Regions from separate parts of the Homo sapiens genome. Here regions 2 and 3 are each linked to region 1. Evidence: promoter capture Hi-C in human tissues and cell types (Jung and others, 2019). All regions are on one chromosome and are shown on one strand. Each heading gives the region's core, a stretch centred on a gene start or on the middle of the fragment in contact. The rest is flanking DNA. Distances are from core to core; before and after follow the strand shown. Region 1 holds the start of PLVAP (plasmalemma vesicle associated protein). Region 2 holds the start of INSL3 (insulin like 3). Region 3 holds the start of MAP1S (microtubule associated protein 1S).

What was found. The method cuts DNA at HindIII sites, captures the fragments that hold promoters and counts their contacts. A contact is called where the count stands out against the background at its distance.
Region 2: a contact is called between the fragment with the promoter of INSL3 here and the fragment with the promoter of PLVAP in region 1, in 2 of the 25 tissues and cell types used here (IMR-90 fibroblasts and lymphoblastoid cells).
Region 3: a contact is called between the fragment with the promoter of MAP1S here and the fragment with the promoter of PLVAP in region 1, in 3 of the 25 tissues and cell types used here (IMR-90 fibroblasts, lymphoblastoid cells and thymus).

What each region holds. Positions count from the first base shown.
Region 1 is chr19:17,375,276-17,379,883 of GRCh38, forward strand. It overlaps PLVAP (plasmalemma vesicle associated protein), which reads right to left and starts at 2,067. Exons shown (of 6, transcript NM_031310.3): 1 at 1,645-2,067. The coding sequence starts at 2,013. It overlaps LOC105372298 (a long non-coding RNA gene), which reads right to left and starts at 4,497. Exons shown (of 3, transcript XR_936362.3): 1 at 4,405-4,497; 2 at 4,138-4,211; 3 at 3,515-3,555. RefSeq lists an enhancer at 3,885-4,608. The HindIII fragment of the contact is 34,336 bases long and covers 1-4,608 here.
Region 2 is chr19:17,820,269-17,824,275 of GRCh38, forward strand. It overlaps INSL3 (insulin like 3), which reads right to left and starts at 1,251. Exons shown (of 2, transcript NM_005543.4): 1 at 1,049-1,251. The coding sequence starts at 1,238. The HindIII fragment of the contact is 21,957 bases long and covers 1-4,007 here.
Region 3 is chr19:17,716,959-17,721,566 of GRCh38, forward strand. It overlaps MAP1S (microtubule associated protein 1S), which reads left to right and starts at 2,522. Exons shown (of 7, transcript NM_018174.6): 1 at 2,522-2,662; 2 at 3,978-4,079. The coding sequence starts at 2,545. RefSeq lists enhancers at 552-1,053, 3,104-3,173, 3,564-3,713 and a silencer at 2,704-2,753. The HindIII fragment of the contact is 7,935 bases long and covers 1-2,904 here.

The DNA of each region.
Region 1 (4,608 bases), core at 817-3,316:
GCTTGTGTGTGCTGGACCCCTTTGATTAGTGCTGGCACATTCTGGGAGCTTCATGCATAGTAAGTTATGGGCTCAGGACTGCCAATTAACACACAGGAGGAGAATTAAACTTGGATTCCAAAAAGACAATGAATATTATTTTCAAAATTATATCTCAAATATTGCATGGAATATACTTACAGTTTAAAAAAAATGTTGCTGGCTGGGAATGGTGGCTCATGCCTGTAATCTCAGCACTTTAGGAGGGTGAGCCTAGGAGTTCAAGACCAGCCTCAGCAGCATAGTGAGATTCTGTCTCTAAAAAAAAGTTAGCCAGGGCACCAGGTCAGGGCACGGTGGCTCATGCCTGTAATCCCAGCACTATGGGAGGCCGAGGTGGGTGGCTCACTTGAGGTCAGGAGTTTGAGACCAGCCTGGCAAACATGGTGAAACCCCGTCTCTACTAAAAATACAAAAATTAGCTGGCATGGTTGCACACGCCTGTAATCCCAGCTACTCAGGAGGCTGAGGCAGGAGAATCACTTGAACCTGGGAGGTGGAGGTTGCAGTGAGGCGAGATTGTGCCACTGCACTTCAGCCTGGGTGACAGAGCGAGACTCCGTCTCAAAAAAAAAAAAAAAAATTGCCAGGTGTGGTGGTGCCCACCTGTAATCTCAGCACTTTGGGAGGTCCAGGAGGGAGGATTGTTTGAGCCCAGGAGTTCAAGACCAGCCTGATCAACATAGCGAGACCCCACGTCTACTAAAAATAAAAAATGACCTGGGCATAGTGGCATGTCCATAGTGCCAGCTACTCAAAAGGCTGAGGCAGGAGGATTGCTGGAGCCCAGGATGTCAAGGCTTCAGTGAGCTATGCTCACATCACTGTGCTCCAGCCTGGGTGACAGAGTGAGACCCTGCCTCCAAAAAAAAGAAAAGAAATAAAAAAAATTTAGCTGGACGCAGTGCCCCACACCTGTAATCCCAGCAGTTTGGGAGGCTGGGGTGAGAGGATTGCTTGAGCCCAGGAGTTCGAGACTAGCCTGGGCAACATAGTGAGACCTCATCTCTGCTAAATATAAACATATTAGCTGGGTGTGGTGGTGCACGCCTGTAGTCCCAGCTACTCAGGAGGCTGAGGCAAGAGGATCACTTGAGTCCAGGAGATTGAGGTTGCAGTGAGCTGTGATAGCAATTGCACTCCATCCAGCCCAGGATACACATGGAGACCCTGTCTCTTAAGGAAAAAAAAAAAATCTATCGGCCGGGTGCAGTGGCTCACGCTTGTAATCCCAACAATTTGGGAGGCCAAGGCAGGCGTATCACTTGAGGTCAGGAGTTTGAGACCAGCCTGGCCAACATGGTGAAACCCCATCTCTACTAAAAATACAAAAATGAGCCGGTTATGATGGCACATGCCTGTAATCCCAGCTACTCGGGAGGCTGAGGCAGGAGAATCACTCCAACCCAGGAGGCAGAGGTTGCAGTGAGCCGAGATTGCACCACTGCACTCCAGCCTGGGAGACGGAGCGAGACTCTGTCTCATAAGAAAAGAGAGCATTGGTCCTGTGATCGTCCCCCTCTCTTGGATGAGGAAACTCAGGCTCAGAGAGGTGAGGGGGCTTGCTCAGGGTCCCCAGGGCGAGTGTCCTGCCCACAGCCTTACCCGGTCACCCTGGCACTGGCGGAAGCTGGCATTGATGCGGTCCAGGTCGCGGCGAGCATTCAGCCACATCTGCATGATGGCATCCTTGGCGCGGGTGGTGAAGTTGAGCTCCTTGGTCAAGTTGGACTGGGAGGCCGTGAGCCCTAGGAGCTGACTGTATAGGCCCTCGGCTCGGCGCTCGGTGGCCTGCAGGTTGGACTCTGTGCTCACGTGCACGTTGCCATAGACCATGAAGAGCACGAGCCCCAGGATGATGAGGAATTGGATGAGGGAGACGAAGAGGAAGAAGTAGCGCAGGTAATACCAGCAGCCCCGAGAGCTGCCCCCCGCCCGAGCGTAGGACCCTCCGTGCTCCATGGCCAGACCCATTTGCTCGATCCCGCCGTCCGGTGCACCGTCCCTGCTCACCACCAGGCCTGCTCTGGCCCCCGCCTCGCAGGGGGGAGTGCTTATATTACTCCTCTTAATACTTCCTCTGCCTGGCTCCTTCCTGGCCCGGAGGAAACGGGGGCTGCGGGTTATCACAACACTCCCACTCTGGCTGTGAGAAGGCGGGGGTGGGGCTGGGGGCCCAGAGCCAGGGCACCGGCTGGACCCCTCTGATTAATGCTGGGTGGGGCGCTGGCTGGCTGGTCAGGCATTCCTGGCCTCTTCGAGCCTCGCGTTCGCCTTTACTTGCTGGCGGGTGCTGTTCTCAGTACCTGCTGTGATTAGGTCGCTGAATCATGCCAGGTCTGTTGCTGTCTCCCTTGTGTGGCGGAGGAAACTGAGGCACAGGGAGGAGAAGGGGTTGCCTCGGGGTCTCACGCTGTTAGTTCAGCGAACTTGACTTACCTCAAGACAGGCTGGCTACAGACGTGCACCCACTTCACCAGGGCGGTGCTGATTAAGTGCCACAAAACGTGGGAAATGTGCCAGGCACGGTGGCTCACGCCTATAATCCCAGCACTTTGGGAGGCTGAGGCGGACGGATCACCTGAGGTCAGAAGTTTGAGACCAACCCGGTCACCGTGGTGAAACCCCCCGTCTCTACTAAAAATACAAAACTTAGCCAGGTGTGGTGGTGCTCGCCTGTAATTCCAGCTACCCAGGAGGCTGAGGCAGGAGAATCGCTTGAACCCAGGAGTCGGAGGTTGCGGTGAGCAGAGATCGTGCCATTGCACTCCAGCCTGGGGTATAGAGCAAGACTCTGTTTCAAAAAAAAAAAAAAACAGAAAAAGTGTGAAACTCTTAGCTAGCCTAGGGATGGAGAAGCAGTAGGTGATTAGTAATTGCATAGGAGGGCGTCACGGAGGGCTGAGCCATGGATGGCGGTGGCGCTGGCTCCCCAAGCTCTGTCATTGCCCCCAGTGCCCTGTTCACTTAGATGCTCAGTAAATGCTCCAGGAAACTGCAGCACAAGGAATAATGAACTTGGAGCGGGGAAGAGCTGGCTTTGTCCCGGGAGAGCTCGGGCAAGAGGCCTCGCATGTCTGTGCCTCCCTTTTCCCCTTTGTGAGACGGGGTATACCCAGTGCCTCGTCACTCTGTGGCTGTTGTTATGATTAGGATCATTTCCTGCTGGAGGCACTGCTGGGGGCTCCGTGAGATGGTGAATGACAAGTGGTGGATACGTGGGACTGAGATTCCTCCCCCGACACTCAAAACCCCATGGGCGGCCGGGCATAGTGGCTCACACCTGTAATCTCAGCACTTTGTGAGGCTGAGGCAGGCGGATCACCTGAGGTCAGGAGTGCGAGACCAGCCTGGCCAATATGGTGAAACCCCATCTCCACTAAAAATACAAAAATTAGCCGTGTGTGGTGGCGAGCACCTGTAATCCCAGCTGCTTGGGAAGCTGAGGCAGGAGAACCACTTGAACCCGGGAGGCGGAGGTTGCAGTGAAGCGAGATCGGGCCACTGCACTCCATCCTGGGAGATAAGAGAGAAACTCTGTCTCAAAAACAAAAACAAACAAACCAAAAAAACCACGGGAGTTTTCTGGGGTCGCTGTGGGTCACCCCCCAGTTGGGCCTGGAGGGGATTTGGGGACCCGGAAGCAAAGGATTCTGTGTGTCCTGCCTATCTCCCAGGATCAGGAGCTCCAGGGAAACCCTCCCTGGAGTCCCTTCTTTGTTTGCTCCATGCTGGGTGATGCCAGGGCCCCCCAAGAGGTGTCAGTCCCAACCTCAGCCACAAGCAACTCCCAGTCTTGGGAGACAGACTGGGACAGGTACCCCCCACCCTGTGGAGTCAGGGTGGGCTGGAGGAACAGGAGCAGGGAGCCGGAAAGGAGGCTGGACTCCGGACAGGTGACAATCATGCAATTGCTGTCCTCTGTAGGGCAATGTGAAGGCTGGGGCGTGGGGACCCGTCCCCCCATTAGCCAGGGTAACAGAGTGGGGAGGGGTCGTTGACAGAGCGGAGGGGTACTCCAGGGTGGTGCTCAGTGAGGCGAGTGTAGAGTTGAGAAGAAGGAAGTTCCCAGGGGTGGGCAGGAAACCCATGTCTGACCTTTGACCTTTGCAGCTACCCGGTGGTTCCTGATCCTGATTCCGGACCCTTCCCAGCGGCGTCGTCGGCGGCTGCTAGTGGGGGAAGGAGGGCTGGGGGCTGCCACGGGTGCCCAACCAGCCATTTCTCTGGGTTGGCCAGACCCACCCAGAGCCCCCCAGAGCTGGGCAGGAGGAGAACATCCTCCGTAATGGGGGCAATGTAGTCTGAGTGAACCCAGCATTACAGTTTAGAGTTCTGGAGTTGAGTTCTGACTGTGCCACCTACCAGCTTTGTGGCCTTGGAGAAGTGACTTTCCCTCCCTGGGCCTCAGTTTTCTCCTGTCCGAAGTGGAGATAGCCAGGTGCAGTGGCTCACACCTGTAATCCCAGCAGTTAGGGAGGCAGAGGTGGGAGAATCGTTGGAGCCCACAAGTTCAAGACCCTGTTCTAAAAAAAAAAAAACCCAAAAAACAAAAACAAAACAAAAATC
Region 2 (4,007 bases), core at 1-2,500, 440 kb after region 1:
GCGAGGCTATGTCTCAAAATAAATAAATAAAAATAAAATAATAAAATAAAGTAACATAATTGTGAAAAGCAATACTTTTCAAAAGCAATACTTTTAAATACTTTTAAAGCTGGACACAGTGACTCACATCGCTAATCCCAACACTTTGGAAGGTCAAGGTGGGAGGATTACTTGAGCTCAGGAGTTTGAGACCAGCCTGGGAAACAGAGTGAGACTCCCTCTCTACGAAAAAGAAAAAAAAATTAGCTGGGTGTGGTGGCAGCACCTGTATCCCAGCCACTCCAGAGGCTGAGGCAGGAGGATGGTTTGAGCCCAGGAGGTTGAGCCTGCAGTGAGCCGAGATCTCACCACTGCACTCCAGCCTGGGCGTCAGAGTGAGACCCTGTCTCAAAAAACAAACAAACAAAGCAAAATTAAGGCAAAAATTCATGAAGATCAAAATATTGAAATTTTAAGACAGGATCTCACCATGTACTTGCAAGAGCCTACCTCTCCTGCCTCACTCTGTTTCTGGCCCCTCAGGGGGACTCATGCTCTGAGGACTTTCTTTTTTTTTTTTTTTTGAGACGGAGTTTCACTCTGTCGCCCAGGCTGGAGTGCAATGGCATGATATCGGCCCACTGCAACCTCTGCCTTCCGGGTTCAAGCGATTCTCCTGCCTTGGCCTCCCAAGTAGCTGGGATTACAGATGTGCATCATTATCCCCGGCTAATTTTTTTAAAAATTATTTTTAGTAGAGATGGGGTTTCACCATTTTGGCCAGGCTGGTCTCGAACTCCTGACCTCTGGGGATCCACCCGCCTCAGCCTCCCAAAGTGCTGGGATTGCAGGCGTGAGCCACCACGCCTGGCTAACGGCTCTGGGGACTTTCACACGCGCGTTCACACACACTCCAGTGCGGACCCACGATCTGTGCACGCAGCCGGCAGGTGAGCCCTGGGCACATGCATGCAAACCTGCCCACCTCCCTGCACGTGTGCATCTGCGCCTACGTGCACCTGCCCCACCTCGGCTTCCCAGAGCGCTGTCCCTGCCCGTCCCCACTCACGGTCGCCTCCGGTCGCAGGCCTCCTGGCTTCGGTGGACCAGCGGGGGCCCCCGCACACGCGCACTAGCGCGCGTACGAAGTGGTGGCCGCACAACTTCTCACGCATCTCTGGGGTGGGCGCGGGGCCCAACGCGAACACCAGGGCAGGGCCCAGCAGCACCAGCGCCCAGGCGGGCAGACGGGGGTCCATGGTGGTGGGTGGCGCCGGGGCCAAGCGGGGACCCCCTTTATAGGCGCCTGGGCCGTCCCAGCTGGGGGCCTTGGAGAAGGGACAGAACATTCTTCAGGACCGCCCAGGAAAAAGGTCAAGGGTGGGGTTAGTGCCAGAGCCTTTCTCCCAGGGCCAGGGCCTTGGATGTACTTCTCCCAGAGGGAGCACTGGGCAACGAGTCTTTCTTTTTTATTTTTTTCTTCTTTTTTTTTGAGATGGAGTCTCACTCTGTCACCCAGGTTGGAGTGCAGTGACTTGATCTCGGCTCACTGCAACTTCTGACACCCGGGTTCAAGCGATTCTCCTGCCTCAGCCTCCTGAGTAGCTGGGATTACAGGTGCGCACCACTATGCCTGGCTAATTTTTTTTTTTTTATTTTTTATTTTTAGTAGAGACTGGGGTTCGCCATGTTGGCCAGGCTGGTCTCCAACTCCTGACCTCAAGCGATCCATCTGCCTCGGCCTCCCAAAATGCTGGGATTACAGGCATGAGCTGTGCCTGGACTATTATTATTTTTATTATTATTATTGAGACAAAGTCTTGCTCTGTCTTCCAGGCTGGAGTGCAGTGATGCGATCTCGGCTCACTGCAACCTCCACCTCCTGGGTTCAAGTGATTCTCCCACCTCAGCCTCCCAAGTAGCTGGGATTACAGGTGTAAGCCACCACGCCCAGCCACCTATTTTTATTTTTTATTTTTGAGATGAGTTCTTGCTCTGTTACCCTGGCTGGAGTGCAGTGGCACGATATGGGCTCACTGCCACCTCCCTATCCCTGACTCAAGCAATTCTCCCACCTCAGCCTCCTGAGTAGCTGGGACTACAGGCCCACGCCACCACACCCGGCTAATTTTTTGTATTTTTTTTGTAGAGATGGGGTTTTGCCATGTTGCCCAGGCTGGTCTCAAACTCCTGGACTCAAGTCATCTTCCCGCCTCAGCCTCCCAAAGTCCTGGGATCACAGGCGAGAGCGACCACACCAGGGTATTTATTCATTTTTGACATAGGATCTCTCTGGGTTGGCCTGTAATGGCAGGATCATAGCTCACTGTAACCTCATTCCCCTGGGCTCAAGCGATCCTTCAGCCTCTGCCTCCTGAGTAGCTGGGACTACAGGCCTGCAATACAATGCCCAGCTAATTTTTAATTTTTTAATTTTTATTTTTATCTTTTTAGACAGAGTCTTACTCTGTCACCCAGGCTGGAGTACAGTGGTGCGATCTCGACTCACTGCAACCTTTGCTTCCTGGGTTCAAGCGATTCTCCTGCCTCAGCCTCCTGAGTAGCTGGGATTACAGGTGCCCACCACCAAGCCTGGCTAATTTTTGTATTTTTTAGCAGAGACGGGGTTTCACCATGTTGGCCAGGCTGATCTCAAACTCCTGACCTCAAGTGATCCACCCGCCTCGGCCTCCCAAAGTGCTGGGATTACAGGCGTGCACCAACGCGCCCGGCCATTTTTAATTTTTTAATTGTAGAGGCAGGGGTCTTGCTATGTTGCCCAGGCTCATCTAGAACTCAAGTGGTTCTCCCTACTCGGCCTTCCAAAATGCTGGGATTACAGGTGTGAGGCACCACACACGGCCAAGTCTTCGCTATTGTCTTAACCAGTTTAAAGAGATGAAATAGATCAACTGAAAAGTAATAATCCTGCCTTTTCTGGGGGGCAGGGGGGAAGACAGCGGGCATCTTCCAAGACCAGAAATGTTCAGAATTTTGTTGTTTCTATTACTGTACAAATGAGAAAACTGAGGCACACAGGCCAGGTGCAGTGGCTCATGCCTGTAATGCAAGCACTTTGGGAAGATGGGGCAGGTGGATCACTTGAGGTCAAGAGTTCGAGACCAGCCTGCCCAATATGGTGAAACTCTGTCTCTACTAAAAATACAAAAATTAGCCAGATGTGGTGGTGCATGCCTATAATCCCAGCTACTCGGGAGGCTGAGGCAGGAGAATCACTTGAACCCAGGAGGTGGAGATTGCAGTGAGCCGAGATGGTGCCGCTGCACACCAGCCTGGGGACAGAGACTCCGTCCCCTCACCAGACAAAAAGAAAGAAAAGAAAAGAAAAAAAGAAAACTGAGGCACAGAGAAAGGACCCCAAACTTGCCCAAGGTCACAGGAGGCTGAGCAGAGCCCAGGTCTTCTCAAGGCGCCTGACACGCAGGGCTGGGGGTGTCCCATCCGAAGCTCTGTCTCCCCAACACGGTTGTCCCCTCTGGGTGAGCAGGGGCTGGTGGACCCAGAATAGAGCAGGATTTATTTGTTCAGTGGATGCTTGGCCCCCGCTTCATGCCTAGGGGGTCTTATAGCTTTGTTTTTCCAAGGAGGGAATCTGAGGTTGAGAGAGGGAAGGATGCTTGACCCTAGGCAGGAGAGAACCTGGGCTGGAACTCGAGTCTTGCTTGACCCCAGAGCAGCTCCCTCCCTATTTCTACCAAATTAGGGGGCCCTCTGGGGCTAAGAGAGCAGGGACAGGGATCTCTCTCTCTCTCTCTCTCTGAGTCTCTCTCGGCCTTCATCTCTCAGTTTCCTTCTGTATGTCTGTCTCTGTCCGCATTTTTCTTTTTTTTGAAACGGAGTCGCTCTGTCGCCCAGGCTGGAGTGCAATGGCATGATCTCAGCTCACTGCAACCTCCACATCCCAGTTTCAAGCAATTCTTCTGTCTCAGCCTCCTGAGTAGCTGGGATTACAGGCATGTGCCAGAACACCAGGCTAATTTTTGTATTTTTAATAGAGACGGTTTCGC
Region 3 (4,608 bases), core at 1,272-3,771, 340 kb after region 1:
GCTACTCAGGAGGCTGAGGCAGGAGAATCCCTTGAACCCGGGAGGCGGAGCTTGCAGTGAGCCGAGGTTACACCACTGTGCTCCAACCTAGCCTGCTTGACAGAACAAGACTCTCTCTCTCTCTCTCAGAATGATTCTGGCAAGGGCGACAGAGTGAGAATCCGTCTCAAAAAAAAAAAAAAGAAAGAAAAAAAAGAATTAGTACCAACAATCATAATTCACAGCGTGGGCAGAAGGAAGTGGATAGACTTCCATTCAGAAGCTCCTGGGTTCGAATCCTGGACCCATCCATAAATACACAAGGAAGGAAGGAAGGAAGGAATAGTGGACAAATAGGCCTTTCAGCCCATTCCAAAAGACTTTATCATATCCCTTCTCAGATGCCCAAGCCTTGTGTTGCACAAGGCCAGGGCCCCAGAGAGGCCTCAGGCTTCCAAAAGTTTCCAGCCTTATAGGGGAGATAGTGCCCGACACAGACACTCCCACTACTATTACTGCTCACAGCAATAACAGAAGAAATCACAGGCAGGCGAGACACAGGGAAGGGAGCCAAGGGGGAGGGACAAGGATAGAGGAAGGATGCCAGAACCAAAAAGAGAGAGAGGAAGTGGAGTGCAAGAATGGTAGACGGCACGTGGCCAGTGGCTGTTACACACTGGCCAGGGAGGAAGTTGGGCTGAACAACCTAGATAATAAACGGCAGCGGGAGGCTGATTCGCCTTCCCAGATCTTTCCCATTTCTGTTCTGCTTTTCTTTGCATACTCCCGGAGACAGGGAGCTCACTCCTGAGAAAGGAGGTTCAATGTTTCCTGGGCATGGACCACTGTCCAGAAGTTCCAAGCAAGATGATTTGTCAAGTAGTAGCCCCTATGGGTCAAAGGGCTAAAGGGGGCCAGGCGCGGCGGCTCACGCCTGTAATCCCAGCACTTTGGGAGGCCAAGGCAGGAGGATCACTTGAGGTCAGGAGTTCGAGACCAGCCTGGCCAACATGGTGAAACCCCATCTCTGCCGGGCACGGTGGCTCACGCCTGTAATCCCAGCACTTTGGGAGGCCGAGGCAGGCAGATCACGAGGTCAGGAGATCGAGACCACGGTGAAACCCCGTCTCTACTGAAAATACAAAAAATTAGCTGGGCACAGTGGCGGGCGCCTGTAGTCCCAGCTACTCGGGAGGCTGAGGCAGGAGAATGGCATGAACCTGGGAGGTGGAGCTTGCAGTGAGCCGAGATCGCGCCACTACCCTTCAGCCTGGGCGACAGAGCGAGACTCTGTCTCTAAAAGAAAAGAAAAGAAAAGAAAAGAAAAGAAAAGAAAAGAAAAGAAAAGAAAAGAAACCTCATCTCTACTAAAATACAAAAATTAGCAGGGCATGGTGGCGGACACCTATAATCCCGCTACTTGGGAGGCTGAGGCAAGGGAATCGCTTGAACCCGGGAGGCAGAGGTTGCAGTGAGCTGAGATTGTGCCATTGCACTCCAGCCTGGGCGGCAGAATGAGACTCCATCTCAAGAAAAGGAAAGGAGAGGAGAGGAGAGGGGAGAGGAGGGGAGGGGAGGGGAGGGAGAGGAAGGGAGGGGAGGGGAGGAGAGGAGAGGAGAGGGGAGAGAAGGGGAGGGGAGGGGAGAAGAGGAGAGGAGGGGAGGGGAGGAGAGGAGAAGAGAGGGGAGGAAAGGAAAGAAAAGCCTAAAGAGGATTATCTGGGGAGAGAGAGGTACCCATGTGCGCAACGCAGGCAGTCCCTTGCACAGGCTGGATCTAGAGTAAGACCCACTTGGGTTCAAACCTGCTCTACCACTTACAGGCCTGGTGACTTCATCCCTCCAAATCTCAGTTTCCTCTTCTTTCCTCTGAAAGTGACCACAGTAACTGTGCCTACTCATCTGTGCCTACATACAAGCACAAAACTCATCGCTTTGTGCTTGTATGTAATGAGCTAATGCAATAAAATACCTGGCGCACAGGAGGTGCAGAATAAGTGTTGCCCTGTTCCAGGCAGGCCCAGAGTGCTCCGGTTGTGTCCCAAACACACATGTACTTTCTTACCTCTAAAACTTTGCACCTGCTGTAAACTTCTGCCTCACCAGCTCTTGCCCCACCACCCACAAGGCAAACTCCTACACATCCCTTAAAGCCCTACCTACAAGATAGATTTCTTTTCTCTGTTCAAGCCCTGACCTAGAGAGCTGGGAGCATCCATAGGCACCGGGTTCTGATGCGGCCTACTGTCATGTGATGTGAGTTCCTGGAGGGCAGGAGTTCTGACCTACATGCAGCAGGCACGCAATCAAAGCTTGTTCAATGAAAAAAAAAATGAATGAATGGTCACTTGGGAGAGGCGGCTCCCAAGCGGACACCCAGGAGTCGGCCAACCCCTTTAACGCCCGCATCCCCTGCTCTCCACGACCTCAAAGGGCCTGTAAGTGGTCGACAAAAAGGGGCGGGGATGCGGTGGTTCCGGGCGGGGTCTTCAGCCCTTCCGGTGCGGCCCCTTTAAGAGGCGGGGCCTGCGGGGCGGGCGCCGAGAACGCCGGGGCGGCCCGAAGATGGCGGCGGTGGCTGGATCTGGGGCTGCCGCGGCTCCGAGCTCACTGCTCCTCGTGGTGGGCAGCGAGTTCGGGAGCCCGGGGCTCCTCACCTACGTCCTGGAGGAGCTCGAAAGAGGTCGGGCTGGCCTGGGGGCCCGCGGGAGCCCGGGAGGCGGGCCCGTTCGCGCGTCTGGGCCCGGGGCCGGCGGGGTGGGGCGGCGGCGGCGGCGGCGGCGGGACCCGGGCTCCGGGGCGGGGGTCGCGGGCCTGGGGCTGGGTCCCCTTCACCGTTAGGCGCACGACGCGGGCAAAGGCGGGGTGCCCGTGGGTGCCCGCGGAGAAAGTGGCATCCGGGCCTGGGCTGGGCAGGGCTGCCCCGCCCCAACTCCGGGTGAAGATAGGGGAGGGGACACGGGCCTGGGCTTGGGGACCCTTGCAGTTGGACCACGGCTCCGCTTCCCGCCTGACTGGCCTGCCCGGGGGTAGGGCCTGGGGTCGCTTTGGATCTCCAGGTCTTAGCAGCTTAGATAGAGATCTCCCGGAGGGAGAAGCAGATATGGGGGAGGCTGGGCCTGGAGCCCCGGGGCCCGCTTTCTGTTGCCTCACAAGGAGCTGCTAATTGGGGTGTGGGCGGGTGCGGCCTGCCCTGGGGATTTGGCACCTAGGGAGGTGAGTCATAGGCGCACCTGCCAGGTTCACCTGCAGCCACTTGGCTCAGTGGGACTGGCGGGCGTGATGCGCCCGTGGGTGGAGATGGGTGTTCATCCCCCATCCCTCGGAGCATCTGGACCTGGCGTTTCATTGCATGTAAAATGGGACAGGAACACGCACCTCGGTTCATGTGCTTGAGGAGTGTTTAGTGAGCACCTGCTATGCGCCAGGCCTTTGGGCAGTGGACACAGGGATATGGCCGGGATGATAGACAGGTTCAGCCCTGCCAACACAGGTCTGGTTTGGGGATGGACCCAAAGCGAGTGAGGAGATGGAACAAGCTTCCAGCTCACATGGTGTCAGGAAGGATGAGAAGGCTGCAAGGGACTGAGAGGACAGTCAGTCTTAGCACCCGAAGGTGCTGAGGGGGAAGGGCCCCCTGGCCAGTAGGAACAGGTGGGGGCGGCAGGGGGATGGACTTCCAGGCAGGGGAAACAGCTGTTGCAAGGGCGGTGAGTGGAAACGGGTCTGGCAGGGCATAGGAGCAGCGAGGAGGTGGAGATGGAGGAGGTGGAGGCTTTGTTGCTGATGAATCTTGTGTGTAAAATGATGAGGTGTGCTCTGGGTCCCCTGGCTCAGCTGCAGCGAGACCTGAAGGTGTTGGGTACTTCTGAGTCTCCAAGCTGTGAGTGAAGGGAGGAGGCTGGGGCGCTCCCCACCCACGGGGTGCTAATTATTGAAATATTCTGGGAGCTGGGGGGCCCGGCTGAACTCCCGCCTTGATCCCTCCTTCCCACCAGGCATCCGGTCTTGGGATGTCGATCCTGGCGTCTGCAACCTTGATGAACAGCTCAAGGTCTTTGTGTCCCGACACTCTGCCACCTTCTCCAGCATTGTGAAAGGTGAGGCTGGGGTCCCCCTGACTGCTCCCTACCTCTTGTTATTTGGGGAAGTGCCAGCCGTGTGCCAGGCATGGGGGGTGGGATGCAGCTATAAATAACAACAGTAATAATACAGTTGAGACCTTTCAAATGCAAGCCGTGACCCAGTGATAACCCCCTCAGTCCTCAGCAACCCACAGTGCAGGAACTGGTGTTTTTGTCCCTGATTGACAGATGAGGAAATTGGCATTGAAGGGGGAAGAGGCAGGGAGATCTCTGAGGAGGGGGTTTTTTGATGAGAAACTGCTATGACTGGTGTGTCCAGTGGAAGGGAAGGGCCCCAGTCAAGACCCAGCAGTGGACAGAACATCTAGAATGAACCGGGCGCGGTGGCTTACGCCTCTGATCTCAGCACTTTGGGAGGCCGCAGCGGGCGGATCACTTGAGGTCAGGAGTTGGAGACTAGCCTGGCCAACGTGGAGGAACCCTGTCTCTACTAAGAATACAAAAATAACGGCATGGTGGCAGGCGCCTCTAATCCCAGCTACTC